2 separate regions of the Homo sapiens genome follow, and region 1 is linked to region 2. The links are contacts of gene promoters, found by promoter capture Hi-C in human tissues and cell types (Jung and others, 2019). All regions are on one chromosome and are shown on one strand. Each heading gives the region's core, a stretch centred on a gene start or on the middle of the fragment in contact. The rest is flanking DNA. Distances are from core to core; before and after follow the strand shown.

Region 1 (6,181 bases), core at 1,079-3,578, 34 kb before region 2:
CCAGGATGGCCGCTTGAAGGACCAGAAAACATTGACTCTATTTAAAAAAGAACATGGTCCTTTGGTTGCTGCTGCAGTGGGTAACAAATCACAGGGCTGAGTCATAAAAACAGTAAGACAATAGAAATTGCATGGAGCAAATAGCACAAATCGGCCATATATCAATTGGGTCAAATTACTAGCATTAATGCACTACAATTCTAGACTATGTGGAAAGTGTCCTGGACAATTTACTAATTAATTAGTTCAATGATACAATCATTCAATCAATGCTTTTTATGGATTTATTTTTATTGAGCACCTGCTATGCACTAGGCCTTAGGCCTTAGCTAGGTCTCAAGTCTTAGGTCCTCCAAGGAATTGTGATGTATAAAACAGTCCCCAACTTTGAGGAGGTTAGTGTAAGGAAATAGGTAAGTAAATCAACAACTAAACTGTACTTTGGAAAGACAATAACAGAGTACTTGAAAAGCATCTAACTCACTCTGGTAAGAGAGCCATGAGCAAGGGACTCTGGGTGAAGAAGCCATGGCCAAAACTGTTGGTAGCCTCCCCCAGTCACTGTCTCTGCCTCTGTCTTTGCCAAGAGAACACTAATTTTATTCTATATGAGGCAGAGTGTACTCAAAGAAGATACCTTTCTTCCCGCAGTCACAGATAAGCCACAACAACTCTTCTCCCTTTGTCAGTCGTCTGAATACAGTAAACGGGAGACCCAGATCTTAAGGGAACCAGATGCAAAGTCTGCTGGGAAAGTTTTTCTCTCTGATAAAAAGGAGAGGTGTCTAAGGGGAATTCCTCACTTCTTTTCTTGTTTTGACTATGGCTTTGTGTGGATCTGATGTTTAGAGTTAAGGCATGTATTTTGAGTCCGTACCGGGAAAGCCAAGACAAAAAAAAGGCAGCCCAGAGTTCAGACATCCTCCAGCTGCTAAATTAACCAGCTGTGAAACTGCTGCTGCAGACATCTTACTGGGGAGATAAACCTCTTTATTATACTATTAAATATCTAGTTGGATATTTTGTTAGTTGAGCTGAAAACATCCAAACTGATACAGAAGTCTCCCTGAAGGAAGTTCTGAGCTGAGGCTTGAAGAGTACGTAAGACTTAGCCAGACAAAGATATGGATAAGGGACCTTCCTGGAAGACAGGTATAAAGGCACTGAGCCTAGAGAGAGGAGCACCTTTGGGAACCACAAGTACTTCATTGTGGTTATAGCAAGAGGTGGGGTTTGAGAGAAATGCAGGACCTTGTGTGCTTAGAAGAAGCTTAGAGTTTATCCTAAAATAATCTGGAGTCATCAAAGGCTTCTCCTGGATTTGCACTTTTTAGAGATGACTCTGGTGGCCATAGAGAGGACAGATCAGGGGGTCTGGGATGAAAACAGAGAGCATAGGTAGGAGAATCCCAATATGAAAAGACAAGGGTGGTGGTGAAGGGGATGCAGAGGACGCAGGTTTGGGAGATGTTCAGGAGGCAGAATGCACAGTACTTGAAGTCCTATTGAATATCACAGGGAAGACATAGGGAGGTGGAAGAGCCAACTCTAGAATTTCTGGTTGGGTATCTAGGGGGACAGAAGTTCTCTCACTGAGACAGAAAATTAACAAGGAAGGGCAGGTTGAGGTGGTTTGAAGTGGGAGACACTGCTGGTAAGCATATGATGGGTCGGGAGACAAGGGGATGATAAACTCAACTTGAACATATTGTTTAGGAATCCTGAGGGACAAATTGAGGGTTTCCAGGAAGAGTTAGATAAGTAGGATTGAAACCAAGTGCTGCAAAGGGGCCTCATCAGGAGAGACGAAGGGTCCAGGGATGCTGTTGAACTCTTGCGATTGGGTACATACTAGAGACTGAGATGAGAAGCCTGCCTCTGGAAATACACAAACTTTAGAGGCAAAAGGGAGGAGAAAGTAAAAAGGAGAAGGTGTTTCAGAGGAGGTTCTTCTTGAGTAGGGAGAAGAGAGGACATATAGGTTGGCAGGCATGGATGAGCAAGGAAAGAGATAAGCATGGTGCTGGTGTGAGGGGAGGGAGGCATATAGGCACAAAGAAAATCATGAACCTTGTAAACTGTGGGTGCATTCAGGGCCGGAATGTCTGTACAGCATGGTAAATAAGTCAGTGATTGATTATAACCAGAACCTGGCACTCAGACTTAACTATGGCAGCTGAAGGTAGACAGAGTAGAGTGTTTTTTTTCTCCTGCCTGGAGGGATCTCAGTCCCAGGGCACAGGGACTGAGGTCCCAATAAATAAGATCTCCACAGTTAAGCTTGGGCTCTATTTTCTCCATTCTTTGCAATTAATTACTGTGGTCATTACAATCTCATCTTTCTCCACTCTAAATCCTGCATTTGGTGTCTGATACTGATCTATGTGATTACACTCTTCTCTTAATATTGACCTGGTTTTATGGCATGAGATACACTTCCAAATGATAAAGCTTGTTTTCTTTGAGATAAAAAGGGTTGGAAAAGAAATTGACTACAGTGTCTGCAGAAGGAGAAAGGAAATAAACATGTTGGGATAAACATGGACATTTTAAGCCTCAAACTGTGATCTATTAGGAACATTTATATCTAAAAGGCAGCCCTGTAGACAGCCATGAGCAGAAAATGTTTGGGTTGCAAATACTAAATACTTCAGGGAAAACATCCCTCTTTTAAAATAATCCAATTCAAAAGAAAGAGAACTGAAACTGGATCCCATCTTTAATTTGTGCTAAAAACCATGAGGTCAAAGTATACAATTTATGAACAAAATTATCCTTGGCTTCTTGAACTGGCGCCATTACCTTCCTCAATGAAAAGAGAAAAGAGACAAAATAACCATTCTCTCAGAACTTATTTCCTCTCTGAGTGGGGCTCTTGTTTAATTGGTTTTGCTTTGAGCAGAAATGGGAAGAAAATGTTGTAGGGTGAACCCATCAAGGCACAGCTCCCAGACACCTGGCTCTTCAAATGGATGAGACAGAATAGAAGATATTTTGACATTTTGTTTTATTTCTCTAACTTGGCTCAAGTCATTTACTTTTCTTCTCTGTCTGCACCAGAGAAAGAGATACCTCGTAATTCTTGTCAGGGACAAAAACCCTCGAAAAACCAAAAGCCTGCAACTGCTTGACAATGCAGTGGGCTGGAAGCATGTAGACACACGTGGTATGAATTGAAGGGCTCCATGAAACTTTCTTTATAACCCATAATACAAATAGTTTTCCTAATTCCTCCATGGTGCCTAGAATTCCTGTTTGATTCATTCCTTTATGGGAGGATATGTCAGTGTTTCGGATTACTCTAATTAAATGAGGACACCCTGCCAGCTTATTAGCTTCTGGATGGCAGGGGCTGTCCTATCTTCCTTGGTATGCCTCGTTGACAGCAAGTACAATCCATAAACATGGTAGGTGTTCAAAAGTACAAGTGGAGAGACAAAAGTAAGCATAGTCAACCATTATGATCATGGTGTGATGGTTCATTTATTAAATAATTCTCCAACTAAGAACACCAAAATCTTATGCTCATACAGAAGAAGGAAAGTTAGGTTGGTTTGGGTGCCTCAGCAGACCAGGAGTAGGGGAGGATGGAGTGAGATGGCTGGGGCCTGGGGCACCAGACTTATAATAGAAATATAATGTGAACCGTCTGGGCGTGGAGGCTCACGCTTGTAATCCCAGCACTTGGAGGCTGAGGTGAGTGGATCACTTGAGGTCAGGAGTTCGAGACCAGCCTGGCCAACATGGCGAAACCCTGTCTCTAATAAAAATATAAAAATTAGCTCAGCATGGTGGCACACGCCTGTAATCCCAGCTACTTAGGAGAGTGAGGCATGAGCATCGCTTGAACCCAGGAAGCGGAGGTTGCAGTGAGCTGAGATAGTGCCACTGCACTCCAGCTTGGGCAACAGAGTAAAACTGTGTCCAAAAAATAAAAAAAAAAAAAAAAAAAGGAAAGGAAGGAAGGAAGGAAGGAAATGTGAACCACATAGGTAATTTTAAATCTTTTAATTTAGAAAAGGTATTATGTTGGTGCAAAAGTTATTACTGCCTTTGGCATTACTTTCAATGGCAAAAACTGCAATTATTTTTGCACCAACTTAATAAAAGAGAAAAAAATGGCAAAAGAAATAAATAAAATTAATTTTAGTATGTTATGTTTAACCCCCCAAATTATCATTTGAACATCTAATTACTACAAAAACTACTGAGATATTTTATTTCTTTTCATACCAAGTCCTCAAAATCCAGCATGTATTTTAATCTTACAGCACATTTGAATTTTGAAGAGCTGCATTTCAAGAGCTTAATAGCCATGTGTGGCTATCACAGTGGACAGCATGGCTCTAGAAGGCTCATTGTCAGAGAGGGAACAAGAGGGAGGGAGTGGGGCATGGCAGTTGGGGAGATGGGAGTCAGGAGCAGGAGAAGGAGATGCTGGAGGACAGCTGGGGTGAGAAAGGCATCAAGGATGTGATTTGTAAGTTTACTGGGACATCTTTGGTCTGATGGCCGGAACCATTCTCAGGCATGTTTGGCTCAGGCTGGACCAGGAGGATTCTCAGGGCCTGAGTGTACAGTTCCTTTGAGTGGAAGATGTGTGTTTCCTTTGGTGCCTTTGAAGTGAATTAATTCAACACAAAGTCTCTTAGTTTAATAAGTCCCAATAATTAATAGGATACCCAAAATTATCAATTATTTTCTTCTGGAACAAATTACCACCTCCTAGAGGACCATAAGCAAATTATCATCTTCTAGAGCAGCAGTCCCCAACCTTTTTTGGCACCAGGGACTGGTTTCATGGAAGACAATTTTTCCATGGATAGTGGTGGTGGGGGATGGTTTTGAGGTGAAACTGTTCACCTTAGGTCAGGCATTAGATTATCATAAGGAGTGTGCAACTTAGATCCCTCACATGCACAGTTCACAATAGAGTTTACACTTCTGTGACAATCTAATGCCACCACTGATCTGACAGGAGGCGGAGTTCAGTCAGTAATGCTCGCCCAACCTTCATGCCACTCACTTTCTGCTGTGCAACCAGGTTACTCACGGGCCATGGACCAGTACCGTGGGGGTTGGGGACCCATGTTCTAGAGCAGGTATATCTGGCCAAACTATATCCCCATAAGTCTAGATTTAATGCCATGGAGACTGTAGCAGAGGCAATGAGAAAGAGGAATTTTCAGTTTCATCTTTATCAAAATGCCAACCATTCTATCTAAGATACTTGTCCATAGCCTATAACCTTTTAATTTAAACTCAGCTGGGAGACATCTTCCATAAAGAGGTGACATCGCACTGGTTAACCATATTGGAGGCGAGTGTAGAAGCCACACCTGAAAACCATTTTCTTCGTTAGGGACTGAATGTTGATGTGTTCCTGCTTTCTTGCCAAATTTAGAAATTCACAGCCGGGTGTGGTGGCTCACGCCTGTAATCCCAGCACTTTGGGAGACCGAGGTGGGCAGATCACCTGAGGTTGGGAGTTAGAGACCAGCCTGACCAACATGGAAAAACCCTGTCTCTATTAAAAATACAAAAATTAGCTGGGCATGGTGGCACATGTCTGTAATCCCAGCTACCCGAGAGGCTGAGGCAGGAGAATTGCTTGAACCCAGGAGGAAGATGTTTCGGTGAGCCAAGATCACGCCACTGCACTCCAGCCTGGTCAATAAGAGCGAAACTCCATCTCAAAGGAAAAAAAAAAAGAAAGAAAGAAATTCACAGCAGTGGCAGCCCTAGTCACCAAGCCTAATTCAGGGTCTTATTTCTCTCCTGTAAAGCAAACTAAAGCTTTAAAATGTTATGTTATTTTATTTTTTTAGGCAGGGTTTTGCTCTGTAGCCCAGGCTGGAGTGCAGTGGTGCAATCACAGCTCATTATAGCCTTGACCTCCCAGGCTCAAGCGATCCTGTCACCTCAGCCTCCCAGTTAGCTGGGACTACAGGCATGCACCACCACACCCAGCTAATTTTTTTTTTGCCTCATAGAGACAGGGTCTCTCTATGTTGCCCATGCTGGTCTCAAACTCCTAGGCTCAAGTGATCCTCCTGCCTTGCCCTCCCAAAGTGCTGGGATTATAGGCTTGAGCCACCATTCCCTGACCATAACTTTGAAATTTTAGGATTGTGTTTGTCTTTTTTATACCCCTCTAGATTTTGTCTCTGGGGTTCTTCAT
Region 2 (6,725 bases), core at 2,448-4,947:
TTTGAAAAATATTTTATGAATTTCTAATAAATATTTGCTAATAAATATTACATTAGAAATAATCAATTAAATGCTTATATTACCATCAACTTAAGCCTGCAGATATTGCAAGAAGTTCACAACACTCCAGGATCTCTGAGTTCATGACAGTAAACTTGCATTTCTTTCATAATATTAACAGGATGCTTATGATAAATGCAGTGCAAATAGAGATGCTTCGTTCTCATCATGGGCTGTTGAAACTAAATTTATGTTGAGTATTGCTATGCCAGGTATATTGTATACCCCATAAATAAATGACTCATAACTAAATGATGTATGTATTATGTGTATATGTATGCATCTGCATATGTGTGTGTATATATATTTTTAATATATATAATTTTTTTAACATTAAAAGGTATTTTTACCCACTGGAGAGAGTTTTAATCTCTTAAGCCATAATTTTACATTATGTATTTTTAATTAAGAGCACGGTGCTGGAGTCGCATCGCTTGGGCAAAAAACATTTATTAACTGTGTGACCTTGGGCAAGTTATGGAACCATTTTGTGTGGCAGTAACCTCCTCCAAGACGAGAACAATAATTGCACCTGCCCCATGGGGTGATTGCAGAGATTAAATGAGTTAAGGCATAGCACTATATAAAAGTATGAAATAAATGTAAACTTTCATTATAATTACTGGTATGTGCAAGGCCCCATGCTAGGTACTCTGAGAGATAAAAGTAAAAAGAGACACAGTCTCCACACTTACACAGTTTACTATCCAATTAGGAACACAAACTACAGTTCCACATAAAGTTAAATATTAAGACCCAAGAAGAAAACACAGTCCAGTTCAGCAGCACAGACCAAACTCTTAAATACAAAAGCCATGGGGAACTGGGTGGCTTAGAGCAGAGGGGTATTTTTTTAAATTATTTCCCTTCATCTGATGCTTATCTCTTTGACATGATGAAAAAAGGCTCAAGGCAGATTGTATAATAAACACATTGCAATGGCCCAGCCCTGTGTTAATCCTACAGTGGTTTAGCCATTGGTGACTGCTACATGACGCAGATGCTGACGCTGGATTAAGACTCTTGACAACAGAGATGGGTTGATCTGTGAGTGTTCTAAGAAGTGGGCCAACCCATCAATGTCTAAAGTCTATAGAGGGTTGGCAAATGCGTCAGATGATTTTTTAATTTTTTTTCTGAGGTTTACGGAGAGTTTCAGGCTGTGATTATCTAGCTTAAGAGGTAATTTTGTAAAAGAACTGGTACAAAACAGGGTGTGCCCCACTGCCAAATGAATACTATAGTTAACAAGTACTCTGTGAGATCAAGGACAAGGCTGCTTATTGTGGTCTGGGGTGATCACAGAAGGCCTTGGGAAGAAATTATTATGAAAGGGCCTTCAACAAGAATTTAAGATAATCCTTGCACTAATTAATCCCTTTTAAGTCAAATATTAAATCTCCCAACTTAATTTTTAAATTTGTCACTCTAAATTCTTACTTACAGACTGTCCCTGAATGGTGCTCTGTAACAAAAGATAATTTTTTGGCTAAATTATGAGTTTAGTAGGTTTCCATGAGTTGATCTGAGAATACAGCATCCATAGCATTGCTTCTGTGGGAAAAGGGGAGCTATTCTGAACTTCAGACAATCATTTACAAACCCATTTTTGAAAACTCTGCTTTGATTGGTTCTTTCTTTCAACAAGTATTTATTAAGTGCTCTTGATATGTCAGACACTGTTGCAGGCACTGAGGATACATCAGTGAACAAAACAAAAATCTCTTCCCTCATGGAGCTGACATTCTAGAGAGAAGAGATAGTTAATAAGCATAATAAATAATTGGTATAGTGTGTTGGAATAAAGAAAAAGTACCATAGGATAAAGGGATGGGGTGGGTGGCAATTCTAAATAGGATGGTCATTGAGAAGGTGACATTTAAGCAAAGTGTGAAGGCAGCTGGCCAAGGCCACCAACCACATTGGGAAAGAGCATTTAAGGTAGAAGGAAGAGCCAGTGCAAAGGCTCTGAGGCAGGAGTTTACCTAGTGAGTTTAAGAACAGCAAGGAAGCCAGTGTAGCTAGAGGTGGGAGAGAGGAGAGAGAAGATGAGGTCAGAGAGGTAACTCATGTAGTGGCAGATAGAAGACTTGCCAGATCATACAGGGCCTTGCAGGCTATTCTAGAGCTTTTGAGAAAATGAGGAATCACTTGTATTAGGCCGGCTTAAAATAGGGCCATCTGTATAAAAATAATTCCTCTTTAAATTGTTTCCTTAAACTTAGGGGTGTATACAAATCACCCAGGATCTTGTTAAAATTCAAATTCTGACTTAGTAGGTCTGGGGAAAGGCCTGAGATTCTGCATCTTTAACAAGCTTTCAGGTGATATCAGGCTGCTGGTCCACAACCACACTTTGAGTAATGAGGTCCCGGGGCTTTTGGGCTTATCTCTCCACTAGCTGGTTACAAGGGCCTTTTTGTTCCCTTTGAGCCTGAAAAGACCACCTCAAAAGGTTTTTCTTTATATTTTTACATTAGCCACAGGTCCCCTCACTGTTCATGGTCCTATTACCTCACTAGTAAGAGCGTGGTCCAGGGCTGCCTCCGGGACTGTGGGGGAGGTTGTCCGGCTGTTTCCATGCACAGTGTAAGAAGTTTCTAGGGCTTCTGCAGTGCCACGTGGAGGCTCTGCTTCTGAACCTCAATCTGCTCCCTGAATAATAATTTCACCTCTCACCACATTCTTGTCTTACTCCAATTACAGGAGCTCTAATACAGGTCTTCACTTCTGGTCCTATACCTAGAGTGATAGTCCAGATCTGTAAACTGAGGCAGCTGGGGGACTCGGGTGATGTTCCCAGGCAGAAGAGGTGGTCAGGTGGTCCACGGAAGCCTGTTTGTTAAGGAGCAAGGCTGATTTCTTAAGAGCCAGCCCAGTAATTGACAGTGGAACAAGTCTGGAAGGACTTGCCATTTCCAAATATAAGGCATAGGATACGGAGTCCCATGGGCTTGAGTTTGAATTGTGCTTCCATCCCTTACTGTGTAACCTGGGGAATGTGCCCGGGTGTCTCTGAGATGCAGTTTTCTTATCTCGAAAATGGGAATGATATCAACACCTCCTTTGTAAATTGAGATAATGCATTTAAAGCACCTAGTAAAGTGCCTGGCACAAATGATACAAAATACTAGTTGCCATTATTTTTATAATTTCTACTATCATCTTACTGCGTACCAAATCGCTTTGACGCCCGGCATTATAGCATCCACCTTTACGTTCTCTGGAGTTAAGGTACCAGAGCAAATCCCTCAGCAAAGGTGTTCAAAGAGAGACACACACGCCCGAGCACTTTCTTCATGACAGATGCCACAAGAGATAACTGGAGGAGCTGAAGATGTTTAGTTTAGAAAACAGGTGATGGGGGACAGGTGGTGATGGCTCTTAGCGTTGCCTTGTTCAACGAGACCCTGAGAGCACGATGAGCCCGCGCGGAAGAGATGAAATGGCAGCACCCCCGCGAGCGCATATCAGAGAAACTCGCCGAGACCTAAAGCGAGTCCGCGCGAGATGGGGGTGGGAGCGCCCGCGGGGGTCGTCTCCTGCGCAGCCGCAGCGGCGGCGCCAATCACCGGGCGCATCACGTCCTCTCGCGACGGTACAGTTGTACGTTCGTGACGTCGGCGGTTGCCGTGGAGAGACCCGCTCGGTCCCGACCGAGAGCTGGCGTCAGGAGCCGCAGGGTCACAGCGTGTCTTTGAAGCTGCCTCCGCCGCCACCATGAGCGGCCGAAGTCGGGGTCGAAAGTCCTCCCGCGCCAAAAACCGGGGCAAAGGCCGCGCCAAAGCCCGAGTCCGCCCTGCTCCGGACGACGCCCCGCGCGACCCGGACCCTTCACAGTACCAGAGTCTCGGGGAAGACACCCAGGCGGCACAGGTGCAGGCTGGCGCGGGGTGGGGTGGCCTGGAAGCCGCTGCGTCCGCGCAGCTCCTCCGGCTCGGGGAGGAGGCCGCCTGCCGGCTCCCCCTGGACTGTGGCCTCGCGCTGCGGGCCCGAGCTGCGGGGGACCACGGGCAGGCCGCGGCCAGGCCCGGCCCGGGGAAGGCCGCATCTCTCTCGGAGCGCCTGGCCGCAGACACTGTCTTCGTGGGAACAGCGGGAACCGTGGGAAGGCCGAAAAATGCCCCCCGCGTTGGAAACCGGCGTGGCCCTGCCGGGAAGAAGGCCCCAGAAACCTGTAGCACCGCGGGGAGGGGGCCTCAGGTCATAGCTGGTGGGAGGCAGAAGAAAGGGGCGGCAGGGGAGAATACCTCGGTGTCAGCTGGGGAGGAAAAGAAGGAAGAGAGGGATGCAGGGTCGGGGCCCCCAGCGACGGAAGGCAGCATGGATACGCTGGAGAACGTGCAGCTGAAGCTGGAGAACATGAACGCCCAGGCGGACAGGGCCTACCTTCGGCTCTCCAGGAAGTTTGGGCAGTTGCGACTGCAGCACTTGGAGCGCAGGAACCACCTCATCCAAAATATCCCGGGCTTCTGGGGGCAAGCATTTCAGAACCATCCCCAGCTAGCATCCTTTCTGAATAGCCAAGAGAAAGAGGTACTGAGCTACTTAAACAGCTTGGAAGTGGAAGAGCTCGGCCTTGCCAGATTGGGCTACAAAATCAAGTTCTACTTCGATCGCAACCCGTATTTCCAAAATAAGGTGCTCATCAAGGAATATGGGTGTGGTCCTTCTGGCCAGGTGGTGTCTCGTTCTACTCCAATCCAGTGGCTCCCAGGGCATGATCTCCAGTCCCTAAGCCAGGGAAACCCAGAAAACAACCGTAGTTTCTTTGGGTGGTTTTCAAACCACAGCTCCATTGAGTCTGACAAGATTGTGGAGATAATCAACGAAGAATTGTGGCCCAATCCCTTGCAGTTCTACCTTTTGAGTGAAGGGGCTCGTGTAGAGAAAGGAAAGGAAAAAGAAGGCAGGCAAGGTCCAGGAAAGCAGCCAATGGAGACTACTCAGCCTGGGGTGAGCCAATCCAACTGATCCTGCACAAGTCTCCCTGCTACCTCCTGCTGGGCTGCTCCTGGTTGACTACATATTTGGCTCTCTGCCTTCTCTTCATGTTGGCCTCTGTGTACTATAGACCCTTTGGACTTTAGTTACAAGAATATGGCATTTATGATCATGTTCTTTTGCCTCCCATAGCCTCTTGCTTTTCTACGTTAGTGTCACATGTTATGTGATCGCACCCGGACTGTTCATATGTTAAGCACACATACTTTAGATGTGTGCTCCCTGTTATCTACATTGCCTGGACCTTGTTCTTGGCTCTGGCCTTTCCTACTTGTCTTTAACATGGACACTCATGAGTCATCCTCCAGGACGACCAGTGCATCCTCAAGCTCTGCTCCTTCAGGGCCAGTGACTTGCTGGGCTTCGTGTTCATGCTGGCCATGCATGTCATCTATGCAAGCGTTTCCATTGCCACTGCAGAATGAAGCCAGTGCACATGGTATTAGTCATCAGCCAGAACTTCCTGTTCTGTGGGTCTGGGGTCACCAGCTGAGATGTCACCTGCTTTATTTCTGGCTTTGGCCTGTGGTCTGTGATACCCATCCTGCTTGATGTTCTGCAGAATGGCACTTGACTGCTGGGCATGCATGAAGTTAAGGGCAAGAAACAGTATGCCATGTGTTCTGTACCATCATGTGTCTCTTCTTGCTTCTGGGCCCTTCTACTGGTGAACTTTCATCAAGATCTGCGCCATGCCGTGTCACTATCAAGCCATTAAGTTTTGTCTGGGTTGCTGTCAGCCCCAGTTGGCTTCCTGGTCAACAAGGACCTCAAGAACTGCCTGTGGACCGAGGCCCCCTACCAGTGCATGAGACACACACCTACCCTCCCCAGCTTTCCAGGAACCCTACTGGCTGCCAGACTGATGGGCGGGCTGGTATGTGTGGACATGTGTTCACTGTCATTATGCTGTGGCTCCAGGTGAGGGTGAGGACTGGGCCTATATAGAATCCAGATACCATTGTCAACTTCCCTTATTCCCGTCTAAGATGTGAGCAGAGTGCCATAGTAGGGGTTCTGGGAAGAGGTATTTCTGATTTGTGGGCCTCTGCTTGCTTGACTTCAGGTCACTTATACTTCTTATTTTGCTTGCCTGCCTTCATCCCTCATTTCCTCCCTCTCATTCTTCTTTCCTCCCTCCCTTTCCTGGTAGCCTCCTTTCCTCCCCTTCTGCCTTCCCCTTCCTTCTTTCCTTATTCTTTTTTATTTTGTTTAAATAGTACCACAGAGAAAACAACTGAAAAACCACATTTTTCTACATACAGCTGGGGAGGTAGCTGAGAACTTGGCACTGCGCACACATACTAGGTTGAAAGAGAGTTGAGGAAACCAGAAGGCCAAGTGGATCTGCTGGCAAACCCTGAACCTGTCTCCTGCGCTTGCTCTACAGTTCTGAAGTTGAAAATCCTTTTCATGCCTAGCATCTGCTTGAGTTATAAACCCCAAGGCAGCCATGTCATAGACTAGTGTTTACTCTTGTTTTGACTTTGTTTTAATGCTTCCTAAGACCCAAGTGCCTCCTGCTGTTTCCTCCTTTGTGGTAGCCTCTGGCCATCTGGACCTCAATCCCCAGCTTTCCCACTTTCAGCAGTCCTTTGCTCTCTTTGCTTCTACCTCAAATAGCCCCAGGAGTGGGCTTTAGTCTCCAATATGGAGCATCT

The links. The method cuts DNA at HindIII sites, captures the fragments that hold promoters and counts their contacts. A contact is called where the count stands out against the background at its distance.
Region 1: a contact is called between a fragment that was not itself captured here and the fragment with the promoter of TSPYL5 in region 2, in 1 of the 25 tissues and cell types used here (H1 embryonic stem cells).

Annotation. Positions count from the first base shown.
Region 1 is chr8:97,308,157-97,314,337 of GRCh38, reverse strand. All of the region lies in intron 2 of LOC101927066 (a long non-coding RNA gene), which reads left to right. Among named protein-coding and RNA genes, the nearest start is that of TSPYL5, 33 kb to the right of the region's middle. The HindIII fragment of the contact is 3,593 bases long and covers 532-4,124 here.
Region 2 is chr8:97,274,900-97,281,624 of GRCh38, reverse strand. It overlaps TSPYL5 (TSPY like 5), which reads left to right and starts at 3,697. Exons shown (of 1, transcript NM_033512.3): 1 at 3,697-6,725. The coding sequence starts at 3,781. The coding sequence ends at 5,034. The region is part of intron 2 of LOC101927066 (a long non-coding RNA gene); the gene reads left to right. RefSeq lists an enhancer at 4,159-4,660. The HindIII fragment of the contact is 7,330 bases long and covers 372-6,725 here.